3 separate regions of the Homo sapiens genome follow, and all the other regions are linked to region 1. The links are contacts of gene promoters, found by promoter capture Hi-C in blood cells and fetal thymus (Javierre and others, 2016). All regions are on one chromosome and are shown on one strand. The core of a region is centred on a gene start or on the middle of the fragment in contact, and the rest is flanking DNA. Distances in the headings are between cores, read along the strand shown.

Region 1 (2,527 bases), core at 16-2,515:
GTTTTCCTAACAAGACTCTAAGACCCCTGTCTCAGCATTTCCAAATCTACTTAGTAGAGTGCAGTGACTTGCATATATTGGATACTCTGTAACCGTGTTTACTGATGAATGCTAATATGAAAGCCTCTTCATATGAACCTCAAAAAGCTGAAAGTCAACTACTCTCTTAGTTTCCCAGCCTGGAAGATCAGATTACTTCATAAAAGTCACACAGGCCTGGATTACAGACCAATGAAACATCCAAAGGAAGGATACTTCTAAGTAAACATACAAACTTTACTGGGGAAGCCGCCTGATTAAAACCTTCCCCGGCAGAATCATGTCCAAAGTGAAGTACAAGGTCTGCTTAAACAGCTTATTAAAAGAAAAAAAAAACAGCGAAAAAAGCGCATCCCTATTGAAAAGATATTTTACTAGCTCCCGTGTCTTAACTTCTTAACTAAGAAACGAAAAGAGCCATACATCAGGTTGAAGTATCTGGGATTCCCGGACGAGGTGGAGGGCAGCGGAGGAAAAACACCGAGAGGCTGCGCTGCAAGGGACGCAGGGAAAAGCAAGCCTGGGGCAGGTCTGAGTTCCGAGTTCCCGACTGCTCCCTCGTGGTGTCTGCGACCCGGTAGCGGGAGCAAGTGAGGTTGTTGGACTGCAGTTTTCCCCCTACAGTGGCGATGCGGGGCCGGGGTCGCGGGTATGAGGAGATGGGGTGTGAGCCGGGGTGCGCCAGGGCAGAGCGCTTCGCCCACCGAGACGGGCAGGGCGGCTCCGGGCACTGGCCGGGCGGGGCAAGGAGCTCCTAGGCCGCCAGGTCCCTCTCTGCTGGCTCCGCGGAGTCCGCCCGGGGGAAGGGAAGGTCGGGGAGGGCCGGGCTTCTCCGAGTGGCCGCGGGGGCTGCGGGACAGGTACTTACCCGGGTGCCATTTCAGGGCCAGCTTCCGATAGGCCTTCTTGAGCTCCTCCTCGCTGGCGTCGCGCCGCACCCCCAGCGCCTCATAGTGACACTTCATCGCCCGACCGGGCGGGCGGCCGGCGCTGGGGCCCGGGACGGGGTCGGGGCCCGGGCCCGGGCCGAAGCGGCGGCGGCGGCGGCGCTGGCAGTCCTCTCCGGCGGGAGTCCGCCGCCCGCACCGGGCCAGCCAGCGAGCCCGGCGGCGGCGGCGGCGGCGGCGGTGGTGTAGGTCAGTGAAGGCGCGCGGTGGCGGCAGACGACGCAGGCTGCGGCAAGCGGGAGCGCGGCGGGGGCGGTGCCGGCGGCCGCCGCTTCGCATGGGCTAGGGGTGGGCTCTGTGCCGGAAAGGGCCGCGCGGGAGGGGGTGGGGCCTCGGCGGGGTGAGAGGCGAGGCCCCGAGGAAGGAAGGCGGGGCCTTGGCGAGGAGAGAGGCGGGCCGCGCAGGAGAAAGGCGGGAGCTTGGCGGGGAAAGAGGCGGGCCGCGTGGGAGGAAGGTAGGCCTTGGCCGGGAAGAACAGGAGGAAGGCGGGACCTTGGTGTGAGAGGCGGGGCCTCGGCGGGGCGAGAGGCGGGGCCGCGCGGAAGGGAGGCAGGGCCACGCTGGTGTCATTGTGAGGGGCACAGATGGCGGTCAGTGTGAGTGGCAGCCGACCTGAGGGCTGAAGGGGGAGATAGGAGCTGGGATGGGAGAGGATTCTGGAAAATATCTGATTATAATTTCTCAATGGATCCCCGTTTTTATAGATAAGGCGATTCAGACTCCAAGTGGTCAAGTGGTTGGCTCAAGCCTCCTCAGCTAATACAGTAGCAGAATTCGGTTGGACTGAATATCAGGTTTTTTTTTTAATCTCTTTAATTCTCTTCAGCTGCCACTTAAGATATCTGGTATTGATCATCTTGACCAATATGCTTGAGAAAGGACAGTTAGATTATTTAAGCGGAAACAATTTAAAAGGGAAGCATCAACACACTTAATGAAAAGCCTTACCACCAACATGGATGAAATTGTGCTGATCTATCCATCCAACACACTTTAATCCTAACTTTCTGGCCTCTAATCCTACCTTTCCAAGATTGGTTTAGGTTAAGAAAGCAGTTAAAGGATAGTATTTAACTGGTAGGTTTTGGTTGATCTGACTATCTGCACAATTATTCCAAACACTTTGAAAGGTATCAAAATAATACCATAATTATTAAAATGCATTAATACACCAATATATTTCACTGTAATGTGGAATGTTTACATGCATCAGTTAGGTGTGGGTTGTATTTACTAACCATGTATGGTTAGCTATGTTGCTAATATCTATTGCACAGGGTTGGCGTACCCAAGCGGTTTAGTAAGGTTATCCTTCTCTTCCCCAATATGCTGCCCCCAGTAAAATAAAAAACCCACGCTAAGCTTCATCAGGTTACTTCACACGCCACTGACCAACCAACTCACTACTCAGAATTCATACACTTCCCTTTTTTCCAGAGGAAGATTCTACACAGTCTCAGTTAGTTGGTAAATTGGTAATGGATAAGGATTGAGAAGTCTGAGTTTGGGGGAGAATGAAACCTTTCCCCTCCTGAGAACAG
Region 2 (2,527 bases), core at 20-2,519, about 30 Mb after region 1:
TTTTCCCTTTACTGACTTCACTCTGTATGCTTTCCCTGTAAGAAACCACAGCCATGAGTATAACTATATGCTAAGTCCTATGAGTACTGAACATGAGCATGGTCTTAGGGACTCCAACACTGACAATCAAAAATGTCTTCAGAAGTAGTAAAACGTTCGCTGAGGAATGCAAGGCTCTGCTGTTTAAACTTTCACAAACATGAAAGACAAAGACTAAATGAAGGAGGCTGAAGAGACATTACAATAAAATATAACACATATTCCTGACATGACTTTGAGTAAGAAAGCAAAAAGCCACTCCCAGGCCAGCAAGCAAAATCTGAATAGGTCTACAGCTGCACCAATGTTACTATCCTGATTTGGAGGGGTGTAGGGTAATTATGTTGGAAAACGTTCATATCTGGAGGAAGTATACCCTGGAACATGTACAGGAGACAAAGTGTATGTGTGCAGACAATGATGAAGCAAATGCAATAACATGTTAACAATTTGTGAATTTGAGAACATCAGGGTTATTTGTATTATTGTGGCAACTTTATTGTAAGTCTGAAATTATTTCAAAATAAATTATTTTTAAAAATCACACTACTCACATTTATTGCTTTGCTGGGAGAGATCTGGCTAATTGTTCAGCATGACTCCTCTCTGATAAACCACTTATTCCTGGTGTGCTTGCTGTTTACTAACTGCTCTTATTTAAAATCAAAGCCTACACTGATATCTAGCAGAGATGAGTGTGTCTTCTCACCTGTTAAAACCTCTGGCACAGCGTGGACTGGAACAGGGCAACAAGGCAGGAATGTCCACCTCTCTCTAACTGTGCCCCAACCACACCCACCCACCAAAACCAAGCAGAGTGGCTTCTGGGTGCTGGGAAGGCAAACCCCAGTCTCTCCAGCCCCACCTCAGTTATCCCCACCTTTACTCTGTGCTTCATCTATCGTCAACTACTTTCTCCCCTCCAGGCCTTGGCACAACTTGTTCTGTCTACAACACTCTCCCTCCATCTTTTCCCTCTTAGTTAACTGCAAATCATCTTTCAGACCTCAATTTAGATTCACTTTTATGAAGCCTTCAGAGAGGTGGCACAATTCCTATATAACTGTCCCTCCTACATGCTCCCAGAGTACCTCATATGTCCCTTACCATAATATTTATATTATACCTATACTGTGGTTGCTTTTCTACTTAACTGTAACCTCAACAAGAATGAGCTCCATGCCTCTTCTGTTCATCATTGTATTCTGAAACACAGGATAGCATCATATATACATCGAAGCTCAATAAATGTGTTTGGCAAATGAATGAATTACAATTTTGTAAGCATTCCTTGTAAAAGAACCATTTCTAAATCAATAGGTCTGGAATAAAATGTTTCAAGTTCCAAACGATGACACTTAAATCACTAGCGATTATCAATGGGAGTCCAGCACAAGTTTATGGACAGGCTCAAATCTGTTCCAAGGACAACCATACATCAAACTCACTGAATCTAATCTAGATACATGAGATGAACAATATAATCATGTGTTTCAAACTCTCATCTGGATCCCCAGGAGAATCCAACTGTTTTGCACTGCAGTGAAGTCAGCAAATATGGGCCTCTCCTTCATCAGAATAAAGAGACTATGTCAGCTTCACTAGCTTGACTTAAACACACACAACTTAAGACTTTACTTAACCATACATAATACATAATATGACTAGAGTGAGGACCCACACTGTTATATCTGACTGCCAAAGTTCTGCAACCCAGAACTTTGGGCATTGGGCTATGGATCAGCAATGAACTACTGTAATCAATGAGCGTAACAAAACAGATATGAAGTGATTTGTGAGACTACGAGCAAAAGACACAGAAAATGTAGTCAATCTGCACACTTCTGAATCAAATAATGATCTCTGCAAAGGTACTGTTATCTCTTCAACAACTAAAGAAAAAAAGGACAGGGAGGATTAAGAAATGAAAGGAAGATTTTCAGTGCAAGCAAACCACTATTCAAGACAGAGAGGCAAGTTAGCCTAACATTACAGTTCAGAATGAAGTCACAACACCAATATGGTTGCCTACCATTGGAAAGACTGACTCCTATGTTACACTTGTAAATTCTCTGCATGATCAAAAAGTTAAAACTATAGCACAGAATATCTTCTCTCTGTACCTCTTTAGTTTCTCTCTCACACGAAAGTTTAATTGAAATATGGAACTTCACGTAGTTATAATACATGCGAAAATTATTTCCAAAAAGCGGTTATCTACTAATTGACCAAAAGAATTGCTTTTCCTTAATTCTCATTCTTTCCGATCTTGGTTCCCTCTGGAACTCTTGATTCCCTCTGGAACGCACTCCCTGTTTAACCCTCTAACATACTTTATCTGTTTCTCCTTTCCTCACCATTCCATGTTCCCCTTCATCAAAGGCCACACATCAGCTAGTTGGTTTTCCGTCACTGACTCTAATGATAGCATGTAATCCCATGAATTGGCCTCATGGTTTCAAAGATTCCTTTAAGTGACAGAACATAA
Region 3 (2,527 bases), core at 14-2,513, about 29 Mb after region 1:
CATGTCGCTACCTCTACCTAATAACTTAAAATTTTTTATTTGTCTAATATTTTATTTCCACCTTTTTTTTTTTTTTTTGAGTCTTGCTCTGTTGCCCAGGCTGGAGTGCAGTGGCATGATCTCGGCTTACTGCAACCTCTGCCTCCTGGGTTCAAGCAATTCTCCTGTCTCAGCCTCCCAAGTAGCTGGGACTACAGGCGCACACCACCATGTCTGACTAATTTTTGTATTTTTAGTAGAGACAGGGTTTCTCCATATTGGTCAGGTCGGTCTCGAACTCCTCACCTCAGGTAATCCACCTGCCTTGGCCTTCCAAAGTTCTGGGATTACAGGCCTGAGCCACCACGCCCAGCCTCCATCTTGTTTTATAATTCCCTAAAGTTAATTGTTGTTAAATCAGGAGAGAAGTATTTTATGTAACATTTCTGTTTATCAGCCCAGCCCACCAACTGGAGTGCCCTGATTCCATAAGTTTGGCAAGTCACTTACCTTCTCTGGCTTTCCATTTCTGGTCACAGCTGGGAGAGGCTCTGAAGATCATCTAGCAAAGGAGCTCCCTCACTTTGCCTGTTTCTAGGCACTGAAAAGTACAGGCCACAAATATATTCAGTAAAATAAATCACTTGAGAAATTCAAACAGGCTAGAGGAGATATCCGCTATCATAGGAGATCGGGCAGAAAAGTTTCTTAAACATAAGAGTGAAATGACCTAAACTGAATTTCAATGAGATAAACAGCAGTTTACTAAGACAGGGCAACCCCACAGGGTGCTGTTTGGTCAGAATTGGCCCGAGGAGGTGAGACCCTGACCTACGAAGGCAGCAGGTGTCCGGGAAGCATGGTTAGCAGCAAGAGCTAGGGGAGGTGGCCGCCGATTACATAGAAGAAAGGAGGCAGGCAGGCGCTGATCCCAGGGGTTCTGGTAGAGGGGCAGGGAAACTACCGTTATTGGTCCTTCATGCAAACTTTAGGATTTTCATCCATGTGTGTATTGCTTGAAGATGCTGCATTGCAGAAAGTCTTCAACTTCTCCCATGACCGAGGCAGGTCTGATGAGAGTGCAAACAGTTAGTACTCGCCCAGCTGCGCGCCGAGGCCTCCTCCAGAATCCAGACCGCATCCCCGAAAGCCCGCCCTGCCCCGCACTTAGGCCCCGCCCCAACACGCCCGTCCCGATAACGAGGCTCCGCCCCCAAGAGCTCGCCCGCGCTCCCCCAGAGGAAACGGAAGTCGTATCTGTCCGGACGGAAGCAGGAAGCGGGAGCGTAGGGCCACGCCTGCGGCGCTGCTGGTTGAGGCTGTGTGGGTCGGGGACGGGCCGAGGCGATGGCGGAGAAGTTTGACCACCTAGAGGAGCACCTGGAGAAGTTCGTGGAGAACATTCGGCAGCTCGGCATCATCGTCAGTGACTTCCAGCCCAGCAGCCAGGCCGGGCTCAACCAAAAGCTGTGAGTGGCGGCCCGAGGCTGCCGGGGTCTCCCCAGGGCCTGGCCGGGAAGCGTGTGCTAGGGGAGCGGGGATCTAGGGAGCCCGAGCCGAGCCTGACCGCTACTCGTGCCCCGCCAGCCCTCTGGTCTGGTCCCGGAGCCCGGGGCGCCTTTCCTGGCTGTGTTCAGAGGGCGGGGCCCGCGCTCCAGCCTGTTGCCAAGAGCCAACCTCTTTGAGGCCCCTTTGGAGACGTCGTCATGGCCAGATGATATACTTTACGTTTCCCTATCAAGGGAATCATGCTTTCTCTTCTAGCGTCTCCCCTCTCATGTGTAACCCCCTCCCAGCCTTTTCCTCCTGGAGCCCTTCTGGGAATTCAGTCCCTGTCTCCAGAGGGGAGGCAGGCTCCACAGTGAGTGCACGCCCTAAACTAGGCCTCAGAAGGTGAGGCTCCGAAGCCACCTGCCGCATAGGCCTGACAGTGGAGGAAATAGCGGGGAGGTGGTGCTGAGAAAGGTTGCAGAACGTTTATTATTATTATTTCTTGGCAACAGCCTTGTGCTGCCCATGTTGCTAGGCCCTGGGTTGGAGAAAAGGCAAATGCAAGTACAGCACTTTCGAGAAGGGCTTTATATGTGGCACGGACATAGAAAATGTTGCACTCGAGGTTCCATACCTAGTGCTGTGGGAATAGCCAGACCAGCCTGATGCTGTAGGAAGGCTCCAGAGAGGAGAGGAAGCTAAACCAGACAGTATGGCTTTCTTTCCCTCAGACTTTGAGTATAGTCCGCTGCCTCATGTGTTCGCTGAAACCGCACACACAGTCATATGCACAGTCAGGTAATTGTTTTTGAGAGAAGGTTCATATTTTTCATCAGGTTCCCTCTCCATCCCCCTTACTGGCAATTTCTAGTTGAGAAGGAAAGTAACAAATATTTAAGGGTATTTTGTAACTCTAACGGTGTCCTAGGAATCCTGTAGCTAACCAAAGAGGTCAGAACCGTGTGTAACCCGCATAGCTGTGAGGAGAACGAACTTGCGTGGAGCCCCGGTTGGCTGGGTAGCTCTGTGGGTGGTGCTTATGCTGTCAAGCGAAATT

What was found. The method cuts DNA at HindIII sites, captures the fragments that hold promoters and counts their contacts. A CHiCAGO score of 5 or more calls a contact.
Region 2: a fragment that was not itself captured here is called in contact with the fragment with the promoter of DNAJC21 in region 1 in 1 of 17 cell types (neutrophils); the score reaches 12.9 in neutrophils.
Region 3: the fragment with the promoter of MED10 here is called in contact with the fragment with the promoter of DNAJC21 in region 1 in 1 of 17 cell types (non-activated CD4 T cells); the score reaches 5.1 in non-activated CD4 T cells.

Annotation. Positions count from the first base shown.
Region 1 is chr5:34,928,297-34,930,823 of GRCh38, reverse strand. It overlaps DNAJC21 (DnaJ heat shock protein family (Hsp40) member C21), which reads right to left and starts at 1,265. Exons shown (of 12, transcript NM_001012339.3): 1 at 908-1,265. The coding sequence starts at 1,004. It overlaps LOC124900961 (a long non-coding RNA gene), which reads left to right and starts at 1,143. Exons shown (of 2, transcript XR_007058731.1): 1 at 1,143-1,175; 2 at 1,691-2,527. RefSeq lists enhancers at 500-669, 136-781 and silencers at 810-1,009, 1,040-1,109, 1,120-1,589. The HindIII fragment of the contact is 5,598 bases long and covers 1-2,350 here.
Region 2 is chr5:5,426,509-5,429,035 of GRCh38, reverse strand. All of the region lies in intron 1 of ICE1 (interactor of little elongation complex ELL subunit 1), which reads right to left. Among named protein-coding and RNA genes, the nearest start is that of ICE1, 5.1 kb to the right of the region's middle. The HindIII fragment of the contact is 2,607 bases long and covers 1-2,527 here.
Region 3 is chr5:6,377,283-6,379,809 of GRCh38, reverse strand. MED10 (mediator complex subunit 10) reads left to right here and starts at 1,263. Exons shown (of 4, transcript NM_032286.3): 1 at 1,263-1,448. The coding sequence starts at 1,327. RefSeq lists enhancers at 809-1,028, 1,319-1,528. The HindIII fragment of the contact is 6,030 bases long and covers 1-2,527 here.